Regions from separate parts of the Homo sapiens genome. Here region 1 is linked to region 2. The links are contacts of gene promoters, found by promoter capture Hi-C in human tissues and cell types (Jung and others, 2019). All regions are on one chromosome and are shown on one strand. Each heading gives the region's core, a stretch centred on a gene start or on the middle of the fragment in contact. The rest is flanking DNA. Distances are from core to core; before and after follow the strand shown.

What was found. Contacts are between HindIII fragments. The study calls those that stand out against the background at their distance.
Region 1: a contact is called between a fragment that was not itself captured here and the fragment with the promoter of ANKRD45 in region 2, in 1 of the 25 tissues and cell types used here (heart right ventricle).

The regions. Positions count from the first base shown.
Region 1 is chr1:173,471,035-173,474,545 of GRCh38, forward strand. All of the region lies in intron 1 of LOC100506023 (a long non-coding RNA gene), which reads right to left. Among named protein-coding and RNA genes, the nearest start is that of PRDX6, 4.5 kb to the right of the region's middle. The HindIII fragment of the contact is 5,462 bases long and covers 1-3,511 here.
Region 2 is chr1:173,668,486-173,671,866 of GRCh38, forward strand. It overlaps ANKRD45 (ankyrin repeat domain 45), which reads right to left and starts at 1,366. Exons shown (of 6, transcript NM_198493.3): 1 at 1,332-1,366. LOC105371619 (a long non-coding RNA gene) reads left to right here. Exons shown (of 3, transcript XR_922291.4): 2 at 2,749-2,849. RefSeq lists a cis regulatory region at 2,411-2,994. The HindIII fragment of the contact is 9,646 bases long and covers 1-3,381 here.

The DNA of each region.
Region 1 (3,511 bases), core at 583-3,082, 200 kb before region 2:
GATTTCAGAGGATGTATGGAAATGCCTGGATATCCAGGCAGAAGTTTGCTGCAGGGCCAGGGCTGTCATGGAGAACCTCTGCTAGGGTAGTGCAGAAAGGAAATGTGGGGTCAGATCCCCCACATAGAGTCCCTACTGGGGCACTGCCTAGTGGAGCTGTGAGAAGAGGGCCACCATCCTCCAGACCCCAGAGTGGTAGATCCACCAACAGCTTGTACCGTGTGCCTGGAAAAGCCACAGACACTCAACACCAGCCTGTGAAAGGAGCCAAGTGGGAAGCTGTACCATGCAGAGCCACAAGGGTGGAGCTGCCCAAGACCATGGGAACCCACCTCTTGCATCAGCATGACCCAGATGCAAGACATGGAGTCAAAGGAGATAATTTTGGAGCTTTAAGTTTGACTGCCCTGCTGGATTTTGGACTTGCATGGGGCCTATAACCCCTTTGTTTTGGCCAATTTCTCCCATTTGGAATGGCGGTATTTACCCAATGCCTGTAACCCCATTGTATCTAGGAAGTAACTTGCTTTTGACTTTACAGGCTCATAGGCAGAAGGGACTTGCCTTGTTTTGGATGAGAATTTAAACTGGGGACTTCTGAGTTAATGCTGAAATTAGTTAAGACTTTGGGGAACTGTTAGGAAGGCATGATTGGTTTGAAATGTGAGGACATGAGATTTGGGAGGGGCCAGGGGCAGAATGATATGGGTTGGCTGTATCCCCACCCAAATCTCATCTTGAATTGTAACTCCCACAATTCCACACGTGATGGAAGGAACCCAATGGGAGGTGACTGAATCATGGAAGCAGGTCTTTCCTGCACTGTTCTCATGATACTGAATGAGTCTCACGAGATCTGATGGTTTTAAAAATGAGAGTTTCCTGCACAAGCTCTCTTTTTGCCTGCCACCATCAACATAAGATGTGACTTGCTCCTCCTTGCCTTCTGCCATGATTGTGAGGCCTCCCCAGCCATGTGGAACTATAAGTCCATTAAACCTCTTTCCTGTATAAATCACCCAGTTTCAGGTATATCTTTACCAGCATCATGAAAACGAACTATTACGATGATAAAGAAAAGCAGTGGAGAGATTATCAGCCCCACTCACTGAAGGTTGACAGGACTGCCTTAATGATATGTACAGGTTACTGTGCCCAAGCTTTCTTTATTTCTGAAAAGACAATCAAATCTAACAAGAAAGTTTATAGAGTTGAAAAAAAACACAATCTCACCATCCTAACATTAATTTTAGTTTTATATGTCTCCTCCCATTGGTACAGGGATTTTTACCTAGCTCTAATTACAGTCATGCATCACTTAACGATGGGGATATGTTCTGAGAAATGTGTCATTAGGCAATTTTGTCATTGTGTGAACATTATGGAGTGCACTTACACAAACCTAGATGGTATAGTCTACTACATACCTAGGCTACATGGTATAGCTTATTGCTCCTACGCCTCAAACCTGCACAGCACATTACTATACTGAATACTGTAGGCAATTATAACACCATGGTAAATATGGCTCAAGCCTGTAATCCCAGCCCTTTGGGAGGCTAAGGTGGGAGGACTACTTAAGCCCAGGAATTTCAGACCAGCCTGGGCAACACAGGTTAGGAAGACCCCGTCTCTACCAAAAATAAAACAATTGCCCAGGTATGGTGGCATGTGCCTGTAGTCCCAGCTACTCAGGAGGCTGAAGTGAGAGGACTGCTTGAGCCCAGGAGCTTGAGGCTGCAGTGAGCTATGATCACACCACTGCACTCCAGCCTGGGTGACAGAGCAAGGCCCTGTCTTAAAAAAAAAAAATGAAAAAAAAAAGGATAAAAAATGGTACACCTATATAGGGCATTTACCATGAATATAGCTTGCAGGACTGGAAGTTGCCATGGGTGAGACAGTGAGTGAGTGGTGAATGAATGTACTGTAGACTTTATAAACACTGTACACTTAGGCTACACTAAATTCATGTGTAAAAATTTCTTTCTTCAATAACAAATTAACCTTACCTTACTATAACTTTTTTACTTTATAAACTTTAAAATTGTTTTAATGTTTTGACTCTTCTGTAATAACACTTAGCTTAAAACACAAACACATTGTATAGCTATACAAAATACTGTATTTTCTTTTTTATATTCTTATTCTATAAGCTTTTTTATAATTCTAAAAGGTTATTGTCTTTTGAAACTTTTTAAACTTAAAAACAAAGACATAAATGCACACATTAGCCTAGGGCTTCACAGGGTCAGGATCCTCAAGACATCACTATGCGAAAGGAATTTTTCAGCTCCATTATCATCTTATGAGACCACCGTAGTATATGTGGTCCAATGTTGTATCACATGACTGTATAACTAGAGACATCTTGCTCTTTTACTCCCAGCTGTGGACAAACAAGAAACTTTGCTGTTGTGGCTGCAGGAAGGCGACCCAATGTTTCTCTAATACTTTGTACAACGTAGTCCTCATGCCCACTATGTGTAACAGGTCACAAATATTCATTAATAAAATATAGTCAAACCTTTAGGAGTTCACAATCTAGTGAGAGAGACAGGCATCATGGTGCACTGTTGTTTTTCCAAATGCCCATTGCTAATCTGTTCATTTTATTCTTCTGTCAAAGCAGTAAAGACAGAAGAGAAGATGTGAGTCATCCCAGAGTCACAGCCCTCTGGAAATGCCTGAAATCCATTCTTTCCTGTCCCTCAGATTACTGTAAGGACTTCAAGGTTCTCTCCGACCCTTATAGCTGTATGAAAACACTTTTTCTGATAGGAGAGCCTCCACCCTCTCTCTAAGGAAAGTAAATCCTTTCTTAGTCAAGCTCTCCCTTTTCCACACTCCGGTCTTTCCCTGGAATGTCTCCTCTGTCCTTCCTCCCCTCCTCCTTTCCCATTATACATCTCACTAACCCTCAGGAAAATAGCTTTAAAATTTTCCCTCTGGAATGGGGCCCAGTCCACAGAGCACCTACCTTTGGTATAAGTCAGATGTTAAACTCAATTACCTACGAAGGCCAGGCAGAACAGCGTTCTTCTGACTTTGTTTGCATATTAAGTTCATGGAACATTCTCTACTTTCACAAAGAAACATGATCATTTTTTTCTTGAAATATACAGCCCTTAGTTAAGCTTTCATTTGCACAGTTTTGACAGATAAGAATGCAAGAACTATTTCTTTTTCCTCCCAATTCTACTCTAATGTTAGTAACTGGCAGAGGACCTTCTGAGTAACAGAGAACATTGCCCTCTAAAAGGCTACTCAGCAGCCACTGTTTGCCAGATGGAACATGGGCCTGGTGTTGCTGTGTTGCTAGATCTTCTGACCTTTCAGGAGACAAAAATCCAGATATTTTTATGAAAAATCATGTTTTCAAAATGCTGATGTGGACGAAAGAAAGAGAGATCAGACTGTTACTGTTGTCTATGCAGAAAGAAGAAGACATAAGAAACTCCATTTTGTTCTGAACTAAGAAAAATTCTTCTGCCTTTAGATGATGTTAATC
Region 2 (3,381 bases), core at 116-2,615:
CACCCCCCAGAGCCAAGGGAAGGCAAAGGGACCCTGACCCGTCCCCATAACTGATTCCGTGAGCCATCCACATAGCCAGGGCACCATCTCAAGGAAAGAATCCAAGAAGATACCTGATAACCTAAATATTTGTATATAAGAGAAATTAAACACTAGCCAAAGAAATCAATTCTAGATTGAGCTAAACTTTAAAACCAATCGGACATTTAGATTCTTTCCTAATAATCAATAAGTAAATGCTCATGAAAGGAACCAGATCAGTCATATACAAAAATAAATTACATTTTCTTTGCCCACAAAAGTAATAACATACATCAAAATTGTAACCTTGCTACATATAACTGAAGTTTCACAGAGAATATGAGCATTGGAGGGAAGAGGGAAGGCTGGAACTATGAAGGCAGAATGGCATTGCTTTAGTCTTGATTCTGTTACTAATTATGTGACTTTTCTGAAATGAGGATAGCACCTGGTCTGCCTTACTAAATAAGTGTAGAAAAATCTATAAACTTTTCTTTTTAACTATAGAATGTGATTGCTTTCGAGCCACCCACAATAGAAAATCACATAGGTCATAGCACCTACCCCATAGGCTCTCACATTTTGGTAGGGAAGACACAAGTAAATCAGCAATGACAGAGTGAGATCAGGGATTCAATGGAGGTAGGTAGAGTGCTTTGAAAGTAAAACCGTGGACATCTACATTCAATTCTGGGTGGCGGTCTCAGAAAGTTTTCCCAGAAGAGGTGAAACCTCGATAGTGAAGAGTAGGAGTCTTAAAAGGAGGAAAAAAGGACAATCCAGGTAACGGGAAGAGCATAAACAAAGGGCAAGGAGGCAGGCGACGCAGCCTGAAGTTGTGATAGAGGAGTAGATCCTAATGTGCCTTTTAAGCCAACTGATTTTTTTCTTCAAAAAAAAAAAAAAAGTAGTCGCTTAATCAAGTCCCAGCTCAAGGAGAAGGACCCCAAGGGCAACCCTGGGCACACAGAGTTAAACAAAGAGAAGGCCTGAGGAACAGGATACAGAAAGTGGCAGCGCCGCCAGGTGATCCAGGAGGTCCCGCGAGGGGGCAACGGACACTTCAGGGCACCAGAGTTTGCTCTTCGGCCTGAATTCCCTAGGGACCTTCTGCGATCCCTTGCGGCTGCCGGCGGGGTAGGAGACCGGTGCGCAAAGCTCTGGACAGAAGCAGTGTGAGGACGCTGAGATTGAAGCCCACTCCCCTCCAGCCCTGCCCGAGCAGCCTGGAGGGAAGATGTCCGTCTACCCCATCGCACTCCTCCCCAAGTGCCCACCCCGGCCCACAGCGCCAGGACCCCTAGACTCACCACACCCGGGCCCCGGCCTCCTCGGTTACCATAGCAACGGCGCAACACGCGAGGCAGCGCCTCCTCCTGCGCCGCGGTTCCGGCAGCGCGGGAAGGTTATTCTTGGTTGCAAAGGCGCAGGAAGCCAGAGTGGAAAACAGCCAGGAATTATCTATAATTTCAGTCTCTGGGTGGCGTGTCGGTTTTTTCTTTGTTTTGTAAATTTTCTGTAATAAGGTATTTGTTTTACAGTTTAAAAATAAGTTGTGCATATTGGTTGTTGGCCTGTCTTTGGCTTTTAAACGAAAGAATTTTCTGGAAATATGAGGTTGCATTCTAAAAACTACAAAAGATTGTATGAATAACCCCTTGCTTAATTTTCTAGTTATTGGATATCTTTCTCCCATGGTTTATGGTCATTGTCACCAGCAAGGAGTGTTTCAGGCGACCTCACAAGTGCCAACTACCTTAGGAGCAGAAGAAACTTGGAGACTATATCCCTCTTGATTCAGAAATTCAAGATGCAAAACACAACTTTAAAAGGGGGGAAGCGATGGAGGTGGAGGGACAAGGGGTTCGAAAGAAACCAGCAGGGAAGGGCCAGGCATACCTAGCAATTATATCAATGTTCACATGAATCACACAGTGAAAACAGGGAAGTTTTTGTGCTGAAGGCAGGTGTGAAGGAAAATATTCATTTCTTTACTGTTTCTACCAAGAGTCCACTAAGGAGTAAGTGAATGTTTTAGAGGGGCTCTGAACATCTGTGCTGAAGTTCGAATAGCCTAGTTCTGAAATGAATATTTGACCTAAGGCCCAAGCAAAATTTCACCATTGTTACAGTAGGTAGTCAGGCATGAGCAGAGCAGGCTCCCCTATCCCCCACCAGGAATGTCAGGCGACCATCAGGTGATAGGCAGTTGTTAACTGTCTCTCTAAAATAATAATTGGTTGCAGCCAATGCCAGGAAAAGGCACTCTCCGAATAGATAGAAAACATCTGAAACTGGTTATCAGCAGCTTCCCCATAAGAGCTCAGGAGTTAGGTGATGTGAGAAACACACTCACCTGTCCAAACCCAAAGAATGGACTTAGAGGCATGAAGAACAGCAAAAGAGACACTTTTTAATAACGGTCTTGCAAGATCGGGTGTCTGGTGAGCAGGAACACCCAGTGCAGTTTCAACAAGGAATTTATCACCTAGTGTGCAAGTCCCTACCCTGGTTCCTCATAGGCTGAGTACTATGGGGTTACAGTCTTCCCCAACGTTGCCTAAGTTTCATTATCCCCTTATAAGGTTACATCTTGTCTCCTTCCCCACTTTAAGTTTTGATTTCCCAATGACAAAACTTTCTTTCCTTTTATGGATTAGCCACCCCACCCCCTATTTTTTTTTCTCCCTCCCCTCTGACTTCTGTGAGTCTTATCACTCTTCCCAGATGTCTGTAGCATGCGGCTTGTCACATCTGCAAGGGAGCTGCCTGGATTTGCCGGGGCCTGTTTTCTGAAAAATGGACCACTTAAAAAGTACTTCTTACAGGTGAGTGGGCTCAAGGATACACATTAAGAGTCAAAATGGTGGAGTTTAACTGGTATATGACCTTCTTGGGTACATTCAATTGGTAAGAGAAGAATGCCTCAAGTGTCATGCATAGAACTGCAGTAAACACACTGCACGTGCTCCTCTCCCAAGTGCTAGCAGGCCACTGCACATGTGGATAGCCCATCCCAAGAGAAGAATCAGGGGAGAAGGGACGCAAGACCCTAGAAGTATGCCACCATATAAAACCCTAAGGCCGGGCACGGTGGCTCATGCCTGTAATCCCAGCATTTTGGGAGGCCAAGGCGGGCGGATCATGAAGTCAGGAGACCAAGACCATCCTGGCTAACACAGTGAAACCCCGTCTCTACTAAAAAATACCAAAAAAAAAAAAAAAATTAGCCAGGCGTGGTGGTATGCGCCTGTAGTCCCAGCTCCTTGGGAGGATGAGGCAGGAGAATCACGTAAACCCGGGAGGCGGAGGTTACAGTGAGCCGAGATCGCACCACTGCCCTCCAGCATGGGTGACAGA